Linked DNA regions of Homo sapiens: regions 2 and 3 are each linked to region 1. The links are contacts of gene promoters, found by promoter capture Hi-C in blood cells and fetal thymus (Javierre and others, 2016). All regions are on one chromosome and are shown on one strand. Each heading gives the region's core, a stretch centred on a gene start or on the middle of the fragment in contact. The rest is flanking DNA. Distances are from core to core; before and after follow the strand shown. Region 1 holds the start of CDK5R1 (cyclin dependent kinase 5 regulatory subunit 1). Region 2 overlaps MYO1D (myosin ID). Region 3 overlaps MYO1D (myosin ID).

Evidence for each region. Contacts are between HindIII fragments. The CHiCAGO score rates a contact against its expected background, and 5 or more counts as called.
Region 2: a fragment that was not itself captured here is called in contact with the fragment with the promoter of CDK5R1 in region 1 in 14 of 17 cell types (naive CD8 T cells, naive CD4 T cells, megakaryocytes and 11 more); the score reaches 16.7 in naive CD8 T cells.
Region 3: a fragment that was not itself captured here is called in contact with the fragment with the promoter of CDK5R1 in region 1 in 16 of 17 cell types (M0 macrophages, megakaryocytes, total CD8 T cells and 13 more); the score reaches 40.2 in M0 macrophages.

The regions. Positions count from the first base shown.
Region 1 is chr17:32,485,214-32,488,865 of GRCh38, reverse strand. It overlaps CDK5R1 (cyclin dependent kinase 5 regulatory subunit 1), which reads right to left and starts at 1,873. Exons shown (of 2, transcript NM_003885.3): 1 at 1,704-1,873; 2 at 1-1,390. The coding sequence starts at 1,245. The coding sequence ends at 322. RefSeq lists enhancers at 787-1,346, 2,586-3,087 and silencers at 1,234-1,523, 1,614-1,873, 1,984-2,513. The HindIII fragment of the contact is 10,728 bases long and covers 1-3,652 here.
Region 2 is chr17:32,775,275-32,778,926 of GRCh38, reverse strand. It overlaps MYO1D (myosin ID), which reads left to right. Exons shown (of 22, transcript NM_015194.3): 3 at 354-447; 4 at 2,898-3,063. Among named protein-coding and RNA genes, the nearest start is that of MYO1D-DT, 100 kb to the left of the region's middle. The HindIII fragment of the contact is 2,256 bases long and covers 685-2,940 here.
Region 3 is chr17:32,755,503-32,759,154 of GRCh38, reverse strand. MYO1D (myosin ID) reads left to right here. Exons shown (of 22, transcript NM_015194.3): 11 at 3,493-3,652. Among named protein-coding and RNA genes, the nearest start is that of MYO1D-DT, 120 kb to the left of the region's middle. The HindIII fragment of the contact is 1,200 bases long and covers 1,171-2,370 here.

The sequences.
Region 1 (3,652 bases), core at 624-3,123:
ACAGGGTGCAGCCGGCAGCCTTGCCTACCCTGGACCCAGCAAGGGCACAGGCGGCAGGGGCAGGTCAGTCCTTTGAGTTCCCCAAAGTGGGAGGTCAGTGGCCTGGGTGGCTCTGAATACATCTTCTGGGTTTTGCGCAAGGCTCGTGAGTTCAAAAGTGCCCAGAGTTCTTGGCAGGGATGAAAAAAACCCCAGGGAGAGACTGTGGGAAAGGTGAGGCCCTTGGTGGCTTTGCTAGACACATACTGTACACAAAACTGATTTAATAATAAATTCTTAAAAATGCATTGAATCCTTGAGCCATGACGCAGGCTACAGTGCTCACCGATCCAGGCCTAGGAGGAGCCGCTTCTTGTCCTCCTGGCCGCTCTCGTTCTTCAGGTCGGAGAAGACCTGTGTGAAGTAGTGTGGGTCGGCATTTATCTGCAGCATCTTTGAGCTCATGAGGTTGATGACAGAGAGGCAACGGTCCCAAAAGGCCTCCTTGCAGCTCTCCACCAGGAAGGGCTTGAGCGGGTAGGAGATCTCGTTGCCCATGTAGGAGTAGGAGAGGTACAGGCATGTCAGCAGGACGGCCTGGAGCTCGTGATCCGAGCCCACCTCGGAGGAGATAACATCCCTGCAGAGCATGTAGAGGAAGACCACGTTGGCCGGCGTGATGAAGCCCTGGTCCTGCCAGCCCTGCAGAAGCAGCGAGCGGTCCACGCTGCGCAGCCAGAGCACGGGGTCCGTGGGGGACAGGTGCTTCAGGCGGTAGCACCGGCGGCAGAGAAACTCACCCAGGCAGCGAAGCAGCTCACTGGTGGACGCCTGGACGATGACCCGTTTGGGCGTCCCTGCGGAGGTGACGGCAGGGTGAGGGGCTTTCTTGACTGAGGAGGAGCCCCCGGTCTGGGAACCCGAGAGCTGGCTGGCCGGGGGTGCAGGCGGCTGGGCCGGTGGGGGCTGGGCGAATGTGGACAGGTTGGCGCACGACAGCGACTTCTTCAGGTTCTCATTGTTGAGGTGCGTGATGTTGTTCTGGTAGCTGCTGTTGGGCTGCACCTTCTTGGAGTTCTTCTTCTTGGCCGACACGGCCACGATTCTCTTCCAAGGCAGCACGGAGATGATGGAGTGGCGCTTCAGGTTCTTGTCCTTGGCGTTCTTGCTGTTCTGTACGGCCGTATAGTGGCCCACGGTGGCCGCGCCATCCTCAAACAGCGTGGCCTTCCGGTAGCTGGGAGACAGGGACAGCACCGTGCCCATGGTGCTGCTGCGCGCCGGGCGGGGGCTCGCGCCCCTGCGCGCCCAGCCTGCCGGCCGGAGGGATAAAACCGCTCACCGAGCCTGCGGCGGCCCCGGAGAGGAGGCGGGGGCGCTCCCGGGAAGCGTGCTGCCCCCTTGGATCTGCCTGGAAAACAAGATGGTTCTTAGCGCCAGGCTGGGCTCCGCGCCGCGCCCCTGCGCCCCTGCGCCCCTCCGCCCCGCGCCTCGGCGCACCCCGCCGCCCCAGTCCCGGGCCCTACCCGCGCCCCCGCGACGCAGCCTCGCCGCCTCCACTGCAGCACCCCCGCCCGCCGCCGCCGCTGCGGTCCCCAGGCGCAGCCGGGAGGGGCCCGGTCGCCGACGGAGGCGGCCGAGGACCCCCGCCTGGACACCCCGCACGGGCGCGACCCCGGTCTCCGCTCCCCAGGGCCAAGGACGGCCGCCCAGCGCAGGCTTACCCGGCAGGCGGCAGCTCCTGCGCTCCGCGCCCTCCGCAATGCGCGCCGCGGCCCCGCCGCCGCGGTCCCGGCGCTCGGCGGCGCTCGGGGGCGCTCGGCGGGGATCGGCTGGGCTCGCGCTCGGCGGCGGCGACGGCGGCGGCGGCGGCGGCGGCAGCTAGGGAGCTTCTGTCCAAGGTTCTGCAGGCACCGCAGCCCCGCCCCCCGCTCGGCCGCCCGCACCTTCGCCGCCGCCGCCGCGCTCCCGCTCCCGCTCCCGCTTCCGGCGCGCGCCTCAGCGCCCTCCCTCGCGGGGCGCGCGCGCCGTCCACGCTCCGGCCTGGTCTCGCCGGGGAGTCGCGGCCGTTGGTGTCCTCAGCTCGAGCCGCGCACGGTGCGGGTAGGACGCGGCAACGAGCGGGAGGCACCTCTACGCGCCGGGCCCCATCTAGGAGCCGGACTCCGCGGCTGCGGCGGGACACGCGGCGTCGGCCCGCCCCGCCCCTCGGGGCCGCCCCTCCCGCACAGCTCGCCGCCCGCTCCGCGCCGCCGCCCAACAGCAGCCCGGCCGCCGGAGAGTCCTCGGCGCCCGCGCAACCCAACTCTGCCGACGCGGGGCGGGCGCCGAGCAGGGCGGAGCCGAGGGCCGACCCCGCCCGCGTCCCGCCCAGACACGTGCTGCCTTTGTTCCCGCCGCGGCGCCCGCAGCTGCCGGCCGCGGGGGCACTCTCGGCCGAGTCCCTGCCCTGGCAGCGCGCGGCCCGCCCTCTCTGAGGCTGCCGCCCTGGCCTGGTGAGGAGCCCTCCGCCGAGGCCAGGGTCCGGAGCTCCCTCCTTCCACCTGACATCCCCGTCCCTGTGGAAAGCAGCCAGGGAGCGCGGGGAAGAAGGCCCTGGGCGGGGAGAGGCGACGCCTTTACTGAGGCCTCCCGAGTGCCACGCGCACCTCGAGTGGACAGTCCAATCGGTTCTGGCCACCCCTCCGGGGCCTCCGTTCCCTCATCATGGGTAGATGACCGCGGCCGAAGTGGGCCTCAGAGATCCAAGCCAGAGAAGCGTGGCCCGTAGCCAAGCCTGAGCCCGTCACAAATATGACCTCTAAGTTCCCACTCGCCCTCTTATTTGTCATATTAAAGCTGAAGCAACTGCCCCTCCGGCCAGCTTTCTGACCCTCTTAAACGTTTTCAATTCTAAGTATGTATAATTTGAGAACTTGATGCTAGCGAAATTGAGTAAAATTCTGTTTCTGAAAGCTGTTCCTGTCAGATGTGAATCCAGATCCTTCACAAAGGCTGTTGTTCATTTACTATTTTACCTTGTTTCTGGAGATCGAGTCAAAACTGACCACAAACCTGGGAAACAGGAAACTTAAGCCCTGTCTTAATCCAGATTATCTCTGGACCTAGAGATGAGGGAGTGGCTCTCCAGAGGAGAGGATGCCACCCAGTTACCTGACCACTCCAGCCGACTAGGCTTTCACCAGCCCTGTCAACTGTCCTAGGGGGAACAGAAAGGGAATCTGGCATCATTCAAAATGGTGCAATCAAGGCAGAAAGTGCTGGGTTTTGTTTATGTGCCACTCAGATTTCTGTCAATAGGAATTCCAGGCTTTAGGAACCTTGGGGGGCAAGGCATACAGTGGAAAATGCATTGCTCTGTACCCAGAGGGCTACTTTGTCCACAGCCTTTCAGAACATCCACAACAGCTGTTATGGGAACTCAGAAGAGGAAGGCAGGCCCCCAGCTCAGTGCGCCCCTCCCTGTGAATGTTCCTCAGTGTACAAGCCTACCTGCTCTTCAAATGGAGCTGTCCTCAACCCTCCTGCATGTAACAGTAAGAAGCCAGAAGAGGCCGACGCAGTGGCTCATGCTTGTAATCCCAGTATTTTGGGAGGCCGAGGCGGGTGGATCACCTGAGGTCAGGAGTTCGAGACCAGCCTAGCCAACATGGTGAAACCCCGTCTCTACTAA
Region 2 (3,652 bases), core at 563-3,062, 290 kb before region 1:
GACTCACTACCTTATTTCATTTCTGCTAGACTTATGAGTCCCTACCAAGTACTAAAACTTTAGTCTTAGTTTACCACATCAGTACCTTTTTCCTAAGTAAATCTTTATTTGTAGTCTACTCATTATTTTAGTTTTATAATAGTTTTATTTTCTTCATCATATTCAGGTCTGTTAGAACCACTAACCATATCAAGGCAGGACGAAATAACTCAAAAAAGCAAAAAAATGAAACAGTGCAACATGTGGGATTTTAAATGCATCACCAGTATCAGATTTTTAAATTATTCTATTAAAAATTAGCTTACTCTTGGTTTAAATTATTATGTTAAGCCCTGAACAATTTTTCCCCCCAGGGGAAAGTGGAGCTGGTAAAACGGAAGCCAGTAAGTACATTATGCAGTATATTGCGGCCATCACCAACCCCAGTCAGAGAGCAGAGGTTGAAAGGTAAGAGCACTCTAATAATGGGGAGGAATTCTTAGCACTCTGTTTTCTCTATGGACTTGGCTAGACCTAAACTCTAGGGGTTGAGCATTTTGGGGGTCTAAACCTATGGGCTGAGCATTTTTTGATGATTAAGCTACTTTGATTCTCTTAAGTGCATATTGTCTCTGTACTTTTATTTATTTCACTGTATCCATTTCTAGATTTGTTTTTAATAGAAAAATAATACTATGGTAAGCTTTACCTAATTATGAGACCAAAAGAATCATTACTCTGAAACAGTTGAAAGTGTTCCCATCCTGGTTTATTACTGTTGACTTAAATGTGGTCAGCAGAGCTGTTATAATTTACACTGGTAGGTTTTATTGTTCAAACTCTCACAGGTTCCTTGCTCTTTGCACCACATCAGGGTTTTTAAAAAACTGTGTTCTGAGAGAAGTGGGACTCTGGAAGGCAGACCCATGCCTTCCCATCATCATCATTACAACATTCAGAATCCACTGACAGTGGAATTTCTGAACAAGATTCATTTTCTTTTTTTCTTTTTTTGAGATGGAGTCTCGCTCTGTGGCCCAGGCTGGAGTGCAGTGGCGCGATCTCAGCTCACTGCAAGCTCCGCCTCCCGGGTTCATGCCATTCTCCTGCCTCAGCTTCCCGAGTAGCTGGGACTACAGGCACCGGCCACTGCGCCCGGCTAATTTTTTTGTGTTTTTAGTAGAGACGGGGTTTCACTGTGGTCTCGATCTCCTGACCTCGTGACCCGTCCGCCTCGGTCTCCCAAAGTGCTAGGATTACAGGCATGTGCCACCGCGCCCGGCCGAACAGGATTCATTTTCTAAAAGGATTTCATGCCATACTGTGCTATTGCTCATGGGAAGATGAGTAATAAAGCTGATCTCTACTGTCTGGGGCCCAGCATTTAGGGGAGCAGCTGGCACATAGTATTTGCTTAACAAATACTTAAGGGATGAATGGATGATAGCTATAAAGCAACAAGACTCACTTTCTTATGTGGTGCAGCCTTTTTGAAGAGAGAAACTGTTTTCCTAATTGGTTACTTCAAAGCTCAGTACTAATTTAGTAAAGAGTCCCACCTCATCTACACATAACAATCTTCAGTTTTATAAATAGGAAGAAAGGATATTGGGTTGATGTAAAAGAAGAGAACTTACACTTCACTACCCTGCGTAGCCTTTCTTCTTTTCATCATATTGGGCTGCATTGCTGGGCCAGGAGAGGCATTTTTCTTAATTGTAACATATCCCTCCTTCTTACTCTGACTTTACAATCTAGTTTGACAAGGACAGGGATATGTGTAAATTTTCTTAATTTCCTTAGGAGCTCAGGAGAGCAACTAGATGAGAAATAAATTAATTTCACACCTACAATAGTAGAGTAAGGCATATATAAATTTACTAGTCTTTCACAAACATATCTTATCACAAGCAGTTTCCCCCCACACACATATTTTTAAAATATGCTTTCATTTATGAGGCGATAAGGTTGAACTCTCCAGTATTAGCGGGAGTAACAGTAGATCTTCTACATCAAGTTATTTCAGAGGCCAAAGTTATTTCTGCAGGTATGCCTGTATAAGAAGAATTTTATCAGTGGAATGAAAACAAGGATATAGCATGAAGTTTAAAATGTATCCATTGGGAGGGACTGCTGTATAGAAAGTTAGCATTCGTCGAATAAAGAATGCATTAAATGGCTGGTACAAAGGAGAAATTCCATACAGCTTCAAAGAAAATAATGAGCAATTTCTGAACTAGTGAAGATTAAATTTATGATGTATAACTAAGTACAATAAAATGTCACAATTCCAGGTTTTATAAGCAAGTGCCTTAAAAATTGTATCATTTTCTGTATCACCTATTCTTTCCCTTTTCAGAACACATCTTTTTAAAAATTTTCTTTATGTAGATAAAATATGTACATTTATAAAATGAAAAACAAAAATTACAGAATTAAGTTGAAGATGTAAAAGTTCCCTGAAATCCTACCTTGCCCATTCCATCAGTCTCCTGTCTAGATAACCATAGTAAGGTGTGCTGATCCCTCCAGATTTTTAAGCATTTGCTGATACATGTGTATGCACACACACACACACGTGAACATACACATACACACACAAGGATCCTGCAATGCATGTTATTTGACAACTTGATTTTATATTCATTAATATATGCTGGACATTTCCATGTGAGTACATATTGATGTACCTCATTCTTTTTAGCACCTGTATAGTATTTCATTATATTGGGAAACAAAAATTTATTTTTATCCCTATTGGTGGACATTAATTTGTTTGTTTTTTTTTTGATATTGCAAACAGTGCTGGAGTTAGCATCTTTGTATAAATATTTGTATGTGGTTTAGCAAAATCCAGTTTTTAAAAAATTCTAGTCTCTATAAGTTTTTATAATGACTTTCATTTATCTGTGTTAAAGAGTGAAGAATATGTTGCTTAAGTCCAACTGTGTTTTGGAAGCTTTTGGAAATGCCAAAACCAACCGTAATGACAACTCAAGCAGGTTTGGAAAATACATGGATATCAACTTTGACTTCAAGGGTGACCCTATTGGTGGGCATATCAATAACTACTTACTAGAAAAGGTAAAATATGCTTAATTTCTGAGGGTAATGTTTTAAGTGCTGAATGTTTAAACAAATTATATTTATAGAATTTATTTTATTGACTCAAAATAGCTTTAAATCCTATTCTCCCTTCTTCATTAGCTTTTTATGATAAGGTATTCTCCTTTTGTCTTCTCTTCTTAGCACTTACACTGTCAAGTTGGAAAAAGTTGTGGACTTTGTAGATAGATTTAGCTATGCGTGTGAATGGGTGGGGGCACAGGTATGAGTGTGTGCCAGCTTCTGGGTAAGGTTTAACCGAAAGTCAATCTAAGACTAATCAGTTCTAGCCTTTTTATACATCACCATCTTCTATACATTTTAATTTTAATTAATTTGATATCTCATTTTCTTCTAGTTTCTATTTGTTCATTGCTTTATAGTAACATATATGTATTTTGTGATCTTACATCCTAATTATGAAGCGAACTGTATTTGGTCAGTAAAAACTTAAAATAGGCCCAATTTCTAGAGGATTCCAATTAGAATTTTCTTCTTGGGACCACCAGAGAGGTTGTGTCTGGTTTGGTTTTGTGTTTTTTGAGACAGAGTCTCACTCTGTCATCCA
Region 3 (3,652 bases), core at 521-3,020, 270 kb before region 1:
ATACAATTAAAATTTAATTCAGTTCAATTAAGTGTATATGAAGCTTTCTAAGAATGAAACTGTTGTATAATATAATACACGGTATAACTGAAGCTTGGATTTTTAATACCAAATTTAATCATAAAACTTGTTATTCAAATGTGATTCCAAGGTACTAGTCAAAAATATCCTTTCACAATCAGAATATCAAATTTCACAGACATAATTGACAACAGGGTAAGTAATGCAGTGGACTGTTCCAAACATCTCAAAAAGAATTAAGAATCCCAAAATGCAAAAAATTTTCGCTAAATAAACCAAGAACTATTTGTCCTAGAGGGAGCAGAAGGCTAACTCCAAGGTAACAGTTACTTACTACATGGCAGATCCCCCCACAATTAGAATCTCTATTCTGGGTAAAACCCCAAACTTCTAAACATAGTGATTCTTTTTAAAAGATTTTTTATTATGGAAAATTTTAAACACACATTAAGAAGACAGACTATAGTACAGTAAACCCTATATACCCATCACCTGGCTTTAACACGTACCAGTTGATTGCCAGTCTTATGCCATCTGTACTATACCCACCTACTCCCAGATTATTTTGAAGCAAATTTCAGATATCACATTATTTCATCTATTCAATTGGGTATCTATTCAGTAAATATTTCCATGTATTTCTCTAAGAGAGTTTTACAAAAACCATAATCACAATGCCATTATCATACCTAAAACATTAACAAAAATTCCTTAATATCATAAAATATCCAGTCAGTATACATGTTTCATATTTCCTTAATTGTCTTCTGGTTGTTGTTTTGCAGGTTAAATTTGGATCCAAATAAGTTTCTTACATTATGATTGATTGATAGGTCTCTTGCATATCTATAGATTTTCTCCATGTTTCTTTTTTTCCTTGAATGATCTCTCTTTGCAATCTTGTGTTGAAGAGAATGAGTCATTTGTTATGGAGTTCCCCACAGTCTGGATTTTGCTAATTGCATTCCTCAGGTGCCATTTAATATGTTTCTCTGTTTCTTGTATGTCCTGTATATTGGTTGTTAGATCTAGAGTCTTGACTGGATTCAGAGTCAGTTTTTTTCCACAGCCCATTTCATAGACTGTGTGTGAACTTCCACCAGGAGGTTCATAATGTCTGGTTATCTGGTACATTCACTTTTAAAAGCTTTCGATGCTGTAGTTTGCAAATCATTTTAACTATTGAGAACTTGATACTCAAGCACAAAGCTGTTTTATCTGGAGTGGGTATGAAAGGCCAGAGCCCCATGTCCCTAAGCTACCCCATCACAAGTCTTCTGGCTCCTGGTATCCCTTAGGAAACCTTACGGGAATGCCAAGTTGCTGGAAGAACTTAGTTTGAAAACTACTGGTTTAAGCAATGTTTGAAGCAGTATTAAACTTACAAACTGAAAGTTACTAGCAGAGACCAATAGCTTTTAATAATATAATTGGGATTTTAGGGAAGGTAATTCTTTAGTCCCTGGGACAAAAGACTTCGTCTTTAATTTCACAGTCCCGAAGTCTAAGATGTCAACTATTAATATAGAGCTCCTGCTTTTTGAGTATTTTTAGGATTTTTTTTCCAAAGATGGAAATAACTTTTCTCCCTAATTAGAAATGTAATAAATGCCCATAATGAAAGTAAATATTTAGACCTACACTGCTTCACCTCAGTACTACTGAGATTTTGTGCCAGATAGTTCTTTGTTGTGGAGGCTGTTCTATGCATTGTAGGATGTTTAGCAGCACCCCTGGCCTCTACCCACCAAATGACAGTAGCACCCCTACCCCATTTTGACTAGAAATGTCTCCTGATATTGCCAAATGTCCCCTGGTGAGCAAAATTCCCCCTATTCCCCTATTTGAGAAACTTTAGTTTAGACAGATCAGAAAAGTATAAAAAACAAAGTAAAAACTACCCAGTTTACAGGTTTCAGTCCATAAGATACAGAAGAGAACATGCAAGACTAGAAATGGAGCTAAAAGCCATGTACAAATAACTGGCATAAAACCTTGGATTTTAAAGCATGAAATGGGAATACATGAGTCACTTGAATGGTCTATTATGAGTATATAGACCTTATAGAAGGTAATGGAGACAGCAATCAGTTTAGGTAACTCCTGCGTAAGATGGGACATAGCAAGATTAAACTGTGTGATCATAAGCTGCCCCTCTTTGAGATGTGCAGCTTGCCTGAGTTGGCCTTTCTTTGTGTGCCTTCTGTGTGTAGTGATAGGTACATTGCAGGCTGTCAGAATAAACAGGTGTGGCAGAGGATTGTTGGACAAACCTTGTACATGTATAGTTGCTGAAAAGCCAGAAGTTATTTATAACTTCATTCACCTTGTGGAAGTAAAGGAAAAGCTTTTTCTTATCTTTTATAGATATTTATTTCTCAGAATTAAATTCTTTATATTATGCCTAGAAAAATGTAAAAATTCTACTGAATTTTTTCAAATTGTTCAAAATTCTATTGAAGCTTTTTAACTTTGGGGAAACCAAAAGAAATGCTCTTTTGGATTTTAGTCATTCAGGGTCATGTAACTAAAAATGCAAGTTCTTTTTTTTTTTTTTCCGTTTTAAGTGGAGTTTATTTAACACTAAGAGATAAAGGGTTGTTAACAAACACAATGACAAATGGACATCTGATTGGGATGAGGCATTATCCTGTACACATAATGTTGATATTTTTGTGTACCCTCAGTGCATGGCATTTACACATAGAGCCACTACTGCACAGCACAAGAGTATCTGAAGAGGCTGAATCAGAGTAAGGCTGTTTAAAAGACTGAAATTTTTTAGTATATATATTCTGCATGAAAACAGAACTTTTGAACTGGCAGGTAGAAGGCAACTCTGCCAAACACTACAGTTAAAGCCCCCACTTTAGTGCACAGTTCCACCCCTTCCATCTGCATGCGTGACACATTAACAGTATTTAAAGGTAAACGAGGCACTTTGTGGCAACTGCAGCCATCGTTATGAACATATTGCACAAAATTTCTAGAACTAAACATTTAACTTGTACCCTACTTTTATAAAATTGCAAGTTTTGTGTAGTACCTTAACTTTATTATGAAGTAGTATATCAGATAATACTTTAAGGTTATTTGTTGGCCCTTTGTGGAAGGTGGACCTTACAGTTAATGGCAGGCAGATTGGTATGAAGGAGTAGGGTTGGGTGTGGGATCTGGAGGCAGGATTAAAATGAGTTTGTAATGGGAGAAATGGTGTCTACCTTATTATCTTTGCCTTGGGCTGTACTAATCTCAGACGGTGTATTTCATGATAGAAAGTTAACAAAGAAATTTAAAAATAAACCTCTGTTAGAATGTGTACTCTTTTTAGCGTAAGACCTCTTTAATGTTATTCACACATTTGACACCAAAGTAGTTTTACCTGAACTCCTGATACAAATGGGAGCATCAGGGTTTAACCTGGCCTGGTCACTGTTCTCTTCAGAATTCCCTCCTTGCTGTGTCCTACAGATTGACTACTTCAACAATCAGATCATTGTTGACCTCGTGGAGCAACAGCACAAAGGGATCATTGCAATCCTTGATGATGCTTGCATGAATGTCGGCAAAGTCACCGATGAAATGTTTCTTGAAGCACTTAACAGTAAATTGGGCAAACACGCCCATTTTT